Linked DNA regions of Homo sapiens: regions 1 and 3 are each linked to region 2. The links are contacts of gene promoters, found by promoter capture Hi-C in blood cells and fetal thymus (Javierre and others, 2016). All regions are on one chromosome and are shown on one strand. The core of a region is centred on a gene start or on the middle of the fragment in contact, and the rest is flanking DNA. Distances in the headings are between cores, read along the strand shown.

Region 1 (4,558 bases), core at 379-2,878, 630 kb after region 2:
AAATGTCACATATGCCCATAAAGATGTACAATTATTATGTATCAATTTTTTAATTTTTTGTTAAAAAAGGGCTTAATGACTGCAAAGCACAAAGCAAAAGTTGAATAAACGGGAGCCACTGTTAGCAGCACCAGCAACATTTTCCTGAGTGATGTTTTGGAAATTGGACATGCAGTTTGTATGGTAACCATATTTTTCAAGCCGGAAAAAACTATGACTTATGGGATCAGATAGGATATTTGGAAGTTGGATTGCTGAGAAACTGAACATATCTATTACTCTACTAGCTAGCGCATCCATAGCTCATTCTATTTTCTAAAAAGTTATGAGCCATTAGCTGCAGGAAATATTTCAGCTGAATTTGGCATGTTTGTCATTTTTAACTTCACTTTGGCAAACAAGGAAGAGTGGAAAACACAAAGCTGGATTTCCCAGAGCTGTGTTAAGTCATTTGAAGCAAACAAAATTGCAGTTTATAATTTAACCAATGCATTAACCAACATTTGCAAACATTAATCCCTAAGTCTGAAGGTTTACTTTAAATGCAAGACAGATTTGAAGTATTAACAAAAAAGAAAAAAAATAGCAATGTTCTTAAAAAAAAACTTTGCATGGAATATATATTTTTATAGGAAGACTATATTTTAAATAATCTAGTTATTTGTGCCTTAAAAAGAATAAATTATAATTCATAAGGCATTAGATGACTATATATACATCAGCTACATTTACCACTTCAGATATATTTACATTCTCAGTGCAATAATTGATAGCTAATCAAATATATCTCAAATATTTTACAAAATTCTCCAAGTAAAATTAATTCTACATCACCAAAAAAATGTAATGCATATGCCATTAAACACTTTGGATAAGAAAAAAGACGCTGTTAAATCTAACTCCAAAAATATATGGGAATTTGATTTTGAGTTTCATCATTCAAATGATTGATTTTATTTTACTAGGTATTTTGAAGACATGACAAATTATGAGAAGACAATCTAAAACAAAGCCCACAGTTTTTTGCTTGTTTGTTTATTTTAGTAAAGCTATACTTTTTTTTTAATTCCATGGATATAGTGGTAAATTTAAGCAGTGCGTGGTGGAGAAAAGGGAATATTTAACAAAGTGATAGCTCTTACAAATAATACTTTGTACTAGACACTGATTAGGAAATGTTTGAGAATTGCAAAAAAAAACTGCACACAGGGCTGTGTTAGGTTGGCTAGAAAAATGACTTACTTTCTGCATATAGGAAGAGATTTGTTCTAGGTATCATACAGTCCAGTTACAAGGTACATCTTCTGAGAACTAGAATCTTCCTTCTATCATGTTTAACAATCCTACATCTTCCCCCAACTCCCTCTGCTTTTAGAAAACTGTTACCCATAATTGGCCAACATATTAAACACATTTCAGTCTTCTTTAAGTGCATATACTCACCTCGTCTTTTCCACTATTTGGCACTCTGCAATACACTTCCCCTGTTGATGGGTCGTAAGAATCTATATATGAGCTACAAGGTAAAAATTTTCCATCTATGAAGTTTTCCAGCATCAAAAGTGCGTTTGTTCCAGCCATAGCAAGGAAAAATTCTGCCTTTCCTCTTTACGACTGAGCACTCAGGTTGTCCCCACCACTGTCTGGACTCCTGAGTGAGCCTCCCCCTTCCCAGCCCCCATCTTCCCCTTTACCAATCAGTGAATGTGGGAGGGCACCTGACGCTCTCAGAGAGCATTCCAGTCTCCAAACTCAGAACTAAGAGAGTGGCTGAATGTTTCACAGACTTCTAGTACATTACCTGACATGGATAATTGTGTGTAAAAGTAACAGCTACTTACTTATGTGTTCATAGCCCTTTAAATCATCAGAAGGCATCTGTGCATGTGATTTTATTGGGTTCACACCGTAAACTGTTCATTGCTCAAACACTGATTGGATGCCAGGCCCCAAAGCAAGTCCTTTACATGAATTTACTCGTTTATTCCACACAACAATCCTATATGAAGTAACCATTACTTCCTCTCTTTTATAGAAGAAACTGAGCCTTGGAGAGGTTAGACCATTTTTCCAAGGTCACATAGTTAGCAGGGGATGAACTGTAGCCCTTTAATCTCCAAATCATATACTTTTTCCTCAATGCATCACTGCTTACCCTGCAGAGGTAACTGAAGACAGATGCCCTCTTTCCGTGGCTCATCTGTGTTTCTTTACCTTGGCTGCCCTCTCTTGGAAGAGCTGTCTCTCCATCCCAAAACCGGGGCCACAGTGGCTGCTCACATCTTCCTAGATGTGCCATGGAGATAAAGACAAGCCAAAAACATGTGTGACACATATAGCAAGGGCTTCAGATCCCTGATGTAGCTGAGAATTTCTACAAATTGGTAAGAGAAATGAGCACCCCAACAGAAAAGATAAGCAAAGATACAAAAAAGCAATCCATAGGAAAAGGAACACAATTGGCTAATGAATATATTAACAATGTTCAGCCTTGTTGTTAAGCAAGGAATGTGAAATACAGAGGTGGCCTGATTTGCCAATCATACTGGAGAGCATTTTTAAAGATTGAGAACATCTACTCTGTGAGGATGTGGAGAATCATCCCTAGTCCATAGGCGGGAGGGTTCACAGAACACTGCTTGGGGCAATTTGTCAGGGTCTGGTCAATTTCTCTTCTAGGAATCTCTCCTACAGAATTACGTGCTCATGAACAAGTACATAAGTCACAGGACATCCTTTTTTATCATAATTTAAAAATCAAAACAACCTAAAGTCCATCAATTGGAGAATATTAGAGTATAATTGTTATATTCTTAACAGGGAATACTACTTAGACATTAGAAGGATGCATTGTTAAGTGAAAAAATAAAACTAGTGAATAATATATACAGCATAGTTTCTTTGGCTATTTACATGGTTGACAGGAAGCCGTTTTAAACTGCTTGGATATTTTATGGCAAGCCTATATTACTTTTATAATTATGATTTATAGTTATAATTCAGTTGAAGGTTAGGTACCAATATTCTAAAATTCATTGATCACATGAGGGCACTTGCTGGCCGTGCACCTCCTTAGGCCCTCTCTGCTTCCATCTTTATTGGTCTCTAGATATTCTCCAAAATTCTTGCTGAGACTTCTGACAAGCATGGTGTGGCTGATTCTGGGAGGCCCAGAGCAGCTGGAGTCTGGAGCTGGCGCCGTTGCCTGTCGCTGGAGAGTCGCTGACAGGGACTGGAGACAGAAGGTAGTCTCAGGCTTTTTCTGGTGCTGCCCACGGTCAGGTCAGCTGGAAACAGAATGAGAGAAATACGCAGGTCCCAGCCCTGGCACCACAGAGTGAAGTACCAAGAAGTGAGCTTGGTGCTGAGAGACAGTGAGTACCACCCGGTGTGTGCATAAAGACTTCTGTAGCCCATCTTCCTGGGTCTCCAACAACTCTGCCTAATGTTGATGGACTCATCAGAATGTTTGTCTTTTTGTACAGAGTGCAAAAGATTCTAATGGGAGGACTATGGAAGGGAGATCTTTTTGAAGAAAGGACTTTACCCAGGATAGCATGAGAGAGGAATTTTCTGCCACGTGACAGTAGAAGAGGACAGAAGCCGGACACGGTGCTTCTAAAGAGTGCCTGGTGCTGATCAGAACTCCCCACACAAGATCAGTCCCAGTGGCAGAGCAGGCGTGTCTGTCAGTTACAGTGGCCTCCTTGTGCCATTTTCTTGTGCCATTGGCTGCTCAAGCTGGGCCTTCGCTGGTTTTTCTTTTTCTTTTTTTTTTTTTGAGACAGAGTTTCACTCTTGTTGCCCGGGCTGGAGTGCAATGGCATGATCTCAGCTCACAGCAACCTCTGCTTCCTGGGTTCAAGCAATTCTCCTGCCTCAGCCTCCCAAGTAGCTGGGATTACAGGTATGTGCCACCACGCCTGGCTAATTTTGTATTTTTAGTAGAGACGGGGTTTCACCATGTTGGTCAGGCTGTTCTCAAACTCCTGACCTCAAGTGATCCGCCCTCCTCAGCCTCCCAAAGTGCTGGGATTACAGGCGTGAGCCACTGTGCCTGGCCTCGCTGGTTTTTCATAATGTACTTGGCCTTCCCCCACTTCCCCCTGTCAGCCCTTTTCTGTCCACAGTGCAACCATTTGATCCCCACCTGCAGGTCAACCACAGAGATGACTCTGGAATCAGAGCTCAGCTGAGCTGGGAGACTTTCATCCTGGAGGACAGAGCATGGGCCTCATTCAGAGTCTGGTCATGTCAGTTGACCCCAGTCCTGATACCTGAGCTCTGACATGCCTTCAAGGCCTTTTCTCTAAGTTGGCACCAACGTTTCTCCTGTCGGTTTCCCTTGAAGAGACATGAAATCCTATATCTGGGCCTAGTGGCTGAGAACCTACTTCTAGGTAGTTCTACCTGCTTCACTGGACATGTGGGTATCACCTGCTCCTGAATTATTCTGGCTGGCTCCATCTGCTCGCCAGTGTGTCCTGCTGAATGCAGATCTGTTCTTACCACATCCCTGTAACAGCATTCTGACCCATGGGTGAAACGTACTCCCATT
Region 2 (5,007 bases), core at 1,955-4,454:
ACTTCAACAATAGAATATAAGAAAATGAATTATTCTGAACTGCAAACAAAGGCATTGTAGTATATGAATGTGTATGTGAAGTAAAAGTTTGGAAAGTATAAACATCAGTATGGTAACAGTTACTACATCTGGGAAAGGGAGAAAGATTGGAGAGGAGGTGGGATATACCTTATTATTGTTTTAATGTTTTATAGATGTATTTACATATTGTTTAACTAAAAACAAACAAACAAAAAAAGCAAAGTCATGTACAAGCAGAAATAAACATTTAGAATACAGAATTTGTGGAATAAACCAAAGTAGACAAAAATCAAAGAATTTATCCCTGGGGCATTCAATGACTTGATACAAGGTCACCTTCTACTTAGTTAACTGTCCTTGAGGAGTAAGGAGAGCGCAGGGGCAGGAGAGATGTCTGATCCTGTCTCCAGCAACTGATAGACCCAGGTTAGAAGTTAGATGAAGCTGCCTGCCAGTTATCTTGGTAGAAACTTCTTTCTGCATGTACTCAGATAAGACATCAGTACCCTGGGTGGTTCTCTGCAAAATTCAAGGTCTGCAGAGTCACCAACTGAAGTCTATTGGTAAACTTGCTTTTAAGCAAAACAAAACCAAATGGCAAATTAGTATTTCTATTAGTACATTTTGATAACAAAGAAAATAAAAGACAATTTAAAATTTATGTAACTTAAATCTACATTGCTTAAGAACATCTGACTGAGGAGTTTTAGAATATCCCCAATACCATGAAATAAATACAGTAATTAAAAGGCAATAGAGTTTAAATACTGGATAATGGGCTATGGCATTTTTAAAATTAGCAAAACATTTGTTTATTATTGAAAATTAGGGCTGGGCCTGGTGGTGGACATCTGTAATCCCAGCAATTTGGGAGGCTGAGGCAGGAGGACCACTTGAGCCCAAAAGGTCAAGACCACCCTGGGCAATATAGCAAGACCCCGTCTCTAAAAAAAAGAAAAAGAAAGAAAGAAAATTAATTTTCATAAAGGGCTCTTCCCTTGGAAAGAAATATTTTAGCTACAGAGAAAAACTAAGAAGCCTTGTGGAGCTCTGTGAAGTTGCACTGACTTGCTTTCACTTAGCTTGCAGCTCACTAGTGAGATTTCACATGGTACTCCCACTCCAAGAGCAGGGGCCAGGACAGGTTGGTTTCATTTTGGTTTGAATGCATATGCTTTGGCCCACAGACTTGGAGAAAGATTTTGCTTTACTGATGAGAACTCAGTCAAGGGTGCTTGGGAGCCTTCGCTGGCCCTCTAGCTGGGCCTGACATGTTGCCTGCATTTCTAGCCTTGCCTTCCCAGCTTGCCCATTTGGTGCAGGGAGATAGTCCAGCCCACCCTGAAATTCACTGTGTTCTGCGGATGAGTTAACTGAAGGGCTGTGTTTCAGGAGTGGCACAGAAAGGACCTGAATGAAAGGAAGGAGGAATGAATGGAGAGAACCATTTTGGTGGAATTGCCCTAGGGTATTAAATAGGATGGGGCAACTGGGGACTGGAGGATGTTCCTTCTCTTACGTTGCTTAGGAAACACTGTCCTTAAGAGTGTCAGTGTCATTCCTTTAACAATCATTCATTTCTTACCTCCCGCTTGTGTATAAATTTGCAGATTTACACAGACCACCAGTGTGGCCATCCCAGTGAACTGAGTTTATTGTGAAATATACATGCAAAAAAATCCTTTTTTCTCACCTACAACCAATGCAACATTATTCATACTTTGAGTTGAAGAATAAGGAGTTTAAGAAATAAATGCATACAGCAACATAACCCTGAATTATCACTCAAATACAGACCTCCCACTGCTCTCTCCCAAAAAAAAAAAAAAAAAAAAAAAAAAAAAGGCAGTTATTCTAAGCAAAAGCAAAAATTGAGGCAACTTAAAATAGACAATTTTAAATGCTGGATTCCATCATTTCTGTAAAAGGTCATTCTACTCCTTTGCTATTTATACCACAGATAGAGACACAGCAAATTATTGGCTGAATGGATTTGGGAAACCAGAAGCTGCTGCTTCTGACGAACGAAGATGATAATGCATCACTTGAGACTGAGTGGATGAAAGGTGTAGAAAAGTTGAACCCTTCAAAGATGAGAGGAAGCTGCTAAATTAGCCCCTGACTAAATTACTAGCCATAATTGTACTCAAGCCAGTTCTCTTTGCGACTGCCTTGTAATCTTTGTTGTGGCTTGAGAGAGAAAAATCCCCATTCCCAGCTCAAACCCGTTTAAGGCATCTCAGCCCAACCCCCTCCTCCCAATGCAACTCTTCATAGCCCCCTGCCCCTCCTCCAACAAATTCTAATCAAGTCAGGTATAGTTCTCAGCTTTACCACTGCCATCAGAAGCACGGCTTACATTAAGGGTTTAGCAACAAAACCTCAGGCTTACTTCAGGCAAACATTCAAAAGCATTTAAGAGAAGCACAGAAAACAAAAGAAATAAGCAAAACCTGTCCTTACCCGCTTCTTAAAAAATTGGAAGGCTGAGCATTTCTTGACTGGGAATCCATTCATGTCTTTGTTTACCATTTTCCACCGTGGGGAATTCACAGTTATAGATCCAGGTTGGCACCCGCCTGGTTAGTGCATATCTGTTTCCCCGGTTTACCTCCTGCAGACAGTTAATGAAGACTGAGCGGGATGGAGAATCTAGCGGGGCTCAGTTCTTCACTCGCGCATTCTGCAGCACCAGCTACTGCAGCAACCTCTCCCCACTTTCAGTTGCCACCGACAGCGGCTTTTCTCCTTCCATCATTGCTCCGAAACATATGCATCACCGCTGCAGGACCCTGGGGGCCGGACGGTGGGATACGGCCAATCTCCGGGGAGATGCTGTGGCTCTTACCGAGCGGGAGAAGGGTACGCCTCCCCGCCCCCAGCTACCTGGCTGCTCTTCCGCGGCCGGCGCGGGGAGCGAGTCGCTCTTCTCCAGGTGATGCGCTCCTGGAGGCGGCTTGAGAGAGGAGAGTTGTTTTTGATTGTGCAAGTTCCAGTGGGAGCTGTAGTTAAGCAGCTGAGAGAAGGAGTAAGAAAGAGCAGAAGCCAGAGGGAGGGAGGGAGAACAGCGCCAGAAAGGCAGAGGGAGCGAGAAGGCGAGGCTGGAAGAAGCAACGGTTCATGAATATCTGAGCAGCGGATGGAGAGAAGGCACAGCCGGCTCAGGGCACACTGAAGAGCAGTTGACTCCCCTTGGGAGGGTTACTTTAAATAGCTTCTTTTCTTTCTTTCTTTTTTTTTTTTTTTGGTTAGGACCATTTAAATCAGAGTTTCATATAAATTGCACACCGTTTTTATTTTATGCTCATTGACATTCTTTTGAATCCTGTTGCTGAATAAAAGCCTCTCAACGGAAATGTAATCACATTTAATCTCGACCTGTCCAAACGTGGAAGAAAATGAAATAAAGTGCAAGCGTAGGTATAACAATGGAAGATCTCTCACTATGTAGAAGCTCTTTTAGCCTCCCCTCCCCTACTTGTCATTATATAGTGGGCAATGGTGACGGTAATTGTGTCTTTTTCATTAAAACAGCTTATTAAAAAAAGAACACAATGAACATATACAAAGTACTTTATTACACACATACACACACACACGAGTTATTACCAAAAAGTACTACTGAATCCATTTAATGATGAGGAAGGTTTGATAAATAAAAGAGTAAAGCATTCTTCCTATTAGGTGAAAAATTTCCCAAAAAATCCTTACTCATGTTATCCTTTGCACACTGAGCTCCTTTTAAAAAAGCCATTTAATTGTATGTGGCTTATTTTTCCATTTTTATTCTTTAATGTTGATATTTTATGGGAATGATTTTAAAGATTAGTTGATAGTAAAGCAAGAAAGCAAAGAAAATAAACTTGGCATCTGACCTGGCAGAAAGCCACCAACATCGGTGTGTGGCTTTCTGCCATCACCTGACCTCACTGTGCCTTTCGGACACTGCCTCATCCATAAAATGGAGGCAGCCACTCATTCATTCATTCACTCATTCATTTATTTAGTCATTCATTATTTGCTATTTCATTCCATTAATAAATCTAACTCTGACAAGTGTCCTCAGGATGTGGAGCCTTTTCATAATCATCACAAGGGAATATAATTGATAAATAAGTGAAAGGCGCAATGCTAATTTGAAACTGATTATGACCTCATTATATATAACACACCTAACATTGTTAAAGTATTTACATGGAAGTCTCTGGTAAGAAGAGAAACATCAGGTTAAACTGGGAAAGAAATGCATGGGTTTCATTGAATTGGACTATAAATCTCTACAGTTGGGCCAGAGTTTTTGGGAATAAACATGAAATCCTGTTTGCTAAATGCCTTGAGGTTTCCAAAAAGAAAATGCAATACAACTAAATGATGGCATGATAACCAAGGGAAAACAACTATTCATTTTGGAGAGATATGTTAAGTTGTCCAAGATGCAAGTATATGTTATGTAATCTACAACATTGATAAGTTTTTGTGGTTCTTCTAAAGAGTTCATTTAAAATTATGGTAGTTCAAAGGGAATTATTTTGAGACGATGGAAGTGTTCTCTATCATGATGATGGTGGTGGTTACATAACTATGCATTTGTCAGAACTCATCAAATTTTATATAGGAAAAGGGAAACTTTTGCTGCATGTAAATTATACCTCAATGGACCTCATTTTAAAAAATGATGGTCATTCAAGTTCTTTCTTTTTCGTCCCATTGCCACTCCCCCAAAAGTGTTTTAACAGACATTTATTGAATTTGAGTAATATACAGGAGGGGACCTTTAAGCACTCTGCTAGGAAGGAGGTGCTGGGGCTTTGCTTAATCCCACATTGGCCTAGCATGCATACTGGTTGATATCATTTGGCTGTGTCCCCACCCAAATCTCGTCTTGAATTGTAGTTCCCACAGTGAGTGATTTCTCATGAGATCTGATGGTTTTATAAGGGGCTTTTCTCCCTTTTGCTCAGCACTTCCCCTTCCTGATGCCATGTG
Region 3 (4,502 bases), core at 1,523-4,022, 520 kb after region 2:
TTTCTTCTTTATGCAATCTGAACATATTACACAATTCTTTTAAGCGTGTCTCATTGTATTATAATCATCTACTGACTAGTTTTCATTTTTTACATTGTGAGCTCTTTGAGGACAGAGATTCTTGTTATTCATCTTTGTGTCATAGAGTTTAGCTGGGACTTAGTAGCACTCAATACATGCGTAAGGAATTAATGAATGAGGGAATAAACGCATGTGCGTTCAACCTAGAATACAGATGCTGGGAAAATTCAGGGAGGGAGTTTAACAGATAAAAGGTAAAGACTTCTATCAACTCACTTTAGTAAAGAGGATGGATAAGCTCAGCCTTGATCCTGTTCCCAGACTTAATTATTCATTCATATACTCATTCATTTATTTAACAAATATTTGTTGAGTGTCTACCATACTTCTTTTTTTTTTAACTTTTAAGTTCAGGGATACATGTACAGGTTCTTTTACATAGATAAAACTTGTATCATGAGGGTTCGTTGTACAGATTATTTCATCTAATAATGGGTACCAGGTATTAAGCCTAGTACCCATTAGTTATTTCTCCTGATCCTCCCTCTCCTCCCACCCTCCACCCTCTGATAAGTCCCAGTGTGTGTTGTTCCCCTCTATGTGTCCATGTGTTCTCATCATTTAGCTCCCACTTATAAGTGAGAACATGTGGTGTTTGGTTTTCTGTTCCTGTGTTAGTTTGCTAAGGATAATGGCCTCCAGCTCCATCCATGTCCCTGCAAAGGACATGATCTCATTCTTTTTTATGGCTGCTTAGTATTCCATGATATATATATACACACACACACATATACACACCACATTTTCTTTATCCAGTCTATCACTGATGGGCATTTAGCCTGCCATGTTTCAGATACTGTACTAGGCACTAGAGTTCTACAAATAATAAAATACTCTTTCTGCTCCCAAGGAATACATAGCCCAGAGGTGGGGGTCCGAACTTGTATTAGTCTGTTCTCGTGCTACTATGAAGAAATACCTGAGACTGGGTAATTTATAAAGAAGAGAGGTTTAACTGACCCACAGTTCCACATCCCTGGGGAGGCCTCAGGAAACTTACAATCATGGCAGAAGACACCTCTTCACAGGGCGGCAGGAGAGAGAATGAGGGCAAGCAGAGGAAATGCCAGACACTTCCAAAACCATCAGGTCTTGTGAGAACTCAGTTACTATCACAAGAACGGTATGGGGAGAAACTGTCCCCATGATTCAATTATATCCCACCTGGCTCCTCCCACAACATGTGGGGATTATGGGGATTACAATTCAAGATGAGATTTAGGTGAGGACACAGCCAAACCATACTAGACATGCAAAACATAAGTGCCATACAGAACTATGAGAGCCACAAGAGAGGAGGGGGCGTAATGCAAGTTGAAGGAGAGTGTGGTGTATCCCACTGCCCTATGGAAGTACTGTCTAAAGAGCGTCCTTGAAGGTGAGTGTGGCAGAAGGCACGTTGACCAAGGGAGATGGTAGGTGCGAATGCCATGGGGCTAAAGAAGTGTGCCACAGGTAAGAGAAATGGACATAATGTAAGGCAAAATTGTCACAAGCCCAGACTTCAGAAAGCAGACCTGTATTGAAAATTCAATTCTCCACATGTGTAACCTTGGGAATGTTATACCTACTGTAAAATGGAGGTAAGAATAGCGCCTACCTGATAAGAATGTTGTGAACATTAATTGCAAAGTAAGTGAAATCCTACCCGGGAGGCCCTTGGCACAGTATGTGTGGCACAATGATCGTGAGGATGGTTGCTGGAACTACAGCAACAAGGAACAGAACAAGATGAGTCTAAATGAGGTTGGCCTGACCCCCAGTGAAGAAGGGTCTTCTGCACCATGCCAAGGAATTTTAATCTGTAAACACTGACTGAAAACCTAGGAGGAATTTTAAGTAACACAGTGCTAAATAATCAGATTTGCGTCTTAAGATCTCTCAGTTAACTGTGTGAAGGATGAATTTAAAACTAGCACAAGAGAATAAATGAGGGCTGAACTGAGACAACAGCTGGGGCATGGTGAGGAGAGGACAGATTTTTGTTGTTGTTGTTGTTTTTTGAGACAGAGTCCTGCTGTCACCCAGGCTGGATTGCAGTGGTGCAATCTCTGCTCACTGCAGCCTCCACCTCCTGGGTTCAAGTGATTCTCCTATCTCAGCCCCCAAGTTGCTGGGACTACAGGTGCACGCCACCACTCCTGGCTGATTTTTTTTGTATTTTTAGTAGAGACGGGGTTTTACCATATTGGTCAGGCTGGTCTCGAACTCCTAACTTCAGGTGATCCACCTGCCTTGGGCTCCCAAAGTGCTGGGATTACAGGCGTGAACCACTGCGCCCGGCCAAGAGGCCAGATCTTGTAGACGTTAAGGAGTAGAAACAATAGGACTCACCCACCAGCAGTTGGTGAGAGGGGTGGGTAAAAGAAAGACAATGACCTTTAGATTTCTGGCTGAAGTGGCTGAAGTGGGAAATCATTAACCAAGAGAAGAAACACAGGAGGTAGAACCAACTGGAGGGGAAAGAAGAGTTTCATTTTAGATGGTAAGCTTCTCACCCTATGGCATATCTAGGCAGAGCTGCCAGTAAATTATTGATAAGTGAATGTGGTGCGGGCTGGACTTACAGAAAGGAAAGCAATAGCATATTATTTATCATCACTTCAAGCTATAGAAATAGAAGTGTTTACCTGGAAAAGCAGTTTAAAATCTGAGGAGAGCAAATTACTACGTTTTTAGGTAACTAAGTCATGGGGACAAAATATCTTAAGAATGAACTCTCTAAAGAAGAGACTTTGACTCAATTTCAAAATGGCTGGAAGGAATCCATCCTGCAGTTCTCCAGCTGGAACCACTGAAAAAAGACATCATAAGGCTTTTTGTGTCTGGGATCATTTACAAATTGTTAAACATTGTCTCAGTAGCAGAAAGTAGATCTGAAAAAGTTGACATTAAGCTTCACTTTGGGAGAGTAAGGGTAGCCATACTGGGCTGTGTAAAGATCTCAAGATTACTCTAGAAATAACCAGAGTGCCTTAAACTACAATATTAAGCATACTTCATTTAGCTAGAGATGTCAGCACATGGTGGATATGCTGAGATGGTTCAAGTAAGTGAAGAGTATGGAGAATGTTAGCCACTCCTTTAAAATACTCAAGTCATGGGGAACCATAAAGAGGAAAAATCGGGTCCATCAATAGGGAGATGGTTTTAAAAAAATGTGGGGGGATATATACAATATCCCAGCAATTTTTTTCATACTCTCATACATAGAAATTAATTGTGACCAAATTCTTATTAACATATTCTGATGTATTAAAGATGTTCTAGGACTACAAATATACATATTACATGTTAAAATAAAGTTATAATTTTTTTTGAGACAGGGTCTGGCTCTGTCATCCAGGCTGGAGTGCAGTGGCATGATCTTGGCTCACTGCAACCTCTGCCTCCTGGGCTCAGGTGATCTTTCCACTTCAGCCTCCTGAGTAGGTGGGACTACAAGCATGCACCACCACACCTGGCTAATTTCTGTATTTTCTTGTAGAGACGGGTTTCACCATGTTCCCCAGACCAGTCTTGAACTCCTAAGCTCAAACTATCTGCCCACCTCAGCCTCCCAAAACACTAGGATTACAAGCATGAGCCACCACACCCAGTCTAAATTATAATTTTTATCATGCATTTGTTAAAGTCCTCTAGAGATGTTAATTCTTTTTTATATTTCTTTTTACTTTTTGAATAAAGACAAGGTCTCCCTATGCTGCTCAGGCTGGTCTCAAACTCCTGAGCTCAAGGCATGAGCCACTGCACCCAGCCTAGAGTTGTTAATTCTGCCTTACAACTGCTCACCCATTTCCCCTATCCCTGCCCCCACCTCCAAAGAACAATTCTATCATATTCCCCATTGTTATCTACTGCCTTTACACATTTATACCGTTTGAAGTTATTTATTTGTTTATATATTTATTTCTCCTCCTCTCCATAAGAATGAAAGCTCCATGAAAGGGAAGGAATTTGTGACTCTTCTCCATGACTGTGTTACCATCTCTTCGCACAGAACCTAGCACACAGTTGGTACTCCAAATGGGTATGTTCAATAAGTTGAACAAATGAAGAGAGTTTTTGTTTTTTAATAAGTTTTACCATATTAGAGAGGACTTCTCTGGTCACCCTATCTAAAACACCATCCCTCAACACTTCCTGTATCTTTACCTTCTTTTTTCTTCTTAACATTCATCGCTACCTGATAGATTCTGTATTTATTGGTTTCTGTCTGCCTCCCCCATAAGCATGTGAGCTCCGTGGCCACAGGCTGTTATTCTCACTGCTGTACCCCCCGGTGCTTAGAACAGTACCTAGCAAGCTCGATGCTGGGCAAAGCAGGTTGCATAAGTCAGTGAATTTACATAAAATTTGGATTACATGCTACAGTTCTTTTCTGTATATGCAGTACATTTTTTTTTCCTGTCCTAATTGTG

What was found. The method cuts DNA at HindIII sites, captures the fragments that hold promoters and counts their contacts. A CHiCAGO score of 5 or more calls a contact.
Region 1: a contact is called between the fragment with the promoter of ALDH8A1 here and the fragment with the promoter of SGK1 in region 2, in 10 of 17 cell types (naive CD4 T cells, naive CD8 T cells, fetal thymus and 7 more). The highest score is 11.2, in naive CD4 T cells.
Region 3: a fragment that was not itself captured here is called in contact with the fragment with the promoter of SGK1 in region 2 in 1 of 17 cell types (monocytes); the score reaches 5.7 in monocytes.

Annotation. Positions count from the first base shown.
Region 1 is chr6:134,948,473-134,953,030 of GRCh38, forward strand. ALDH8A1 (aldehyde dehydrogenase 8 family member A1) reads right to left here and starts at 1,629. Exons shown (of 7, transcript NM_022568.4): 1 at 1,444-1,629. The coding sequence starts at 1,581. The HindIII fragment of the contact is 9,755 bases long and covers 1-4,558 here.
Region 2 is chr6:134,314,908-134,319,914 of GRCh38, forward strand. SGK1 (serum/glucocorticoid regulated kinase 1) reads right to left here and starts at 3,205. Exons shown (of 14, transcript NM_001143676.3): 1 at 2,485-3,205. The coding sequence starts at 2,553. RefSeq lists an enhancer at 2,753-3,032. The HindIII fragment of the contact is 10,717 bases long and covers 1-5,007 here.
Region 3 is chr6:134,837,812-134,842,313 of GRCh38, forward strand. The region is part of intron 2 of LOC101928277 (a long non-coding RNA gene); the gene reads right to left. Among named protein-coding and RNA genes, the nearest start is that of ALDH8A1, 110 kb to the right of the region's middle. The HindIII fragment of the contact is 406 bases long and covers 2,570-2,975 here.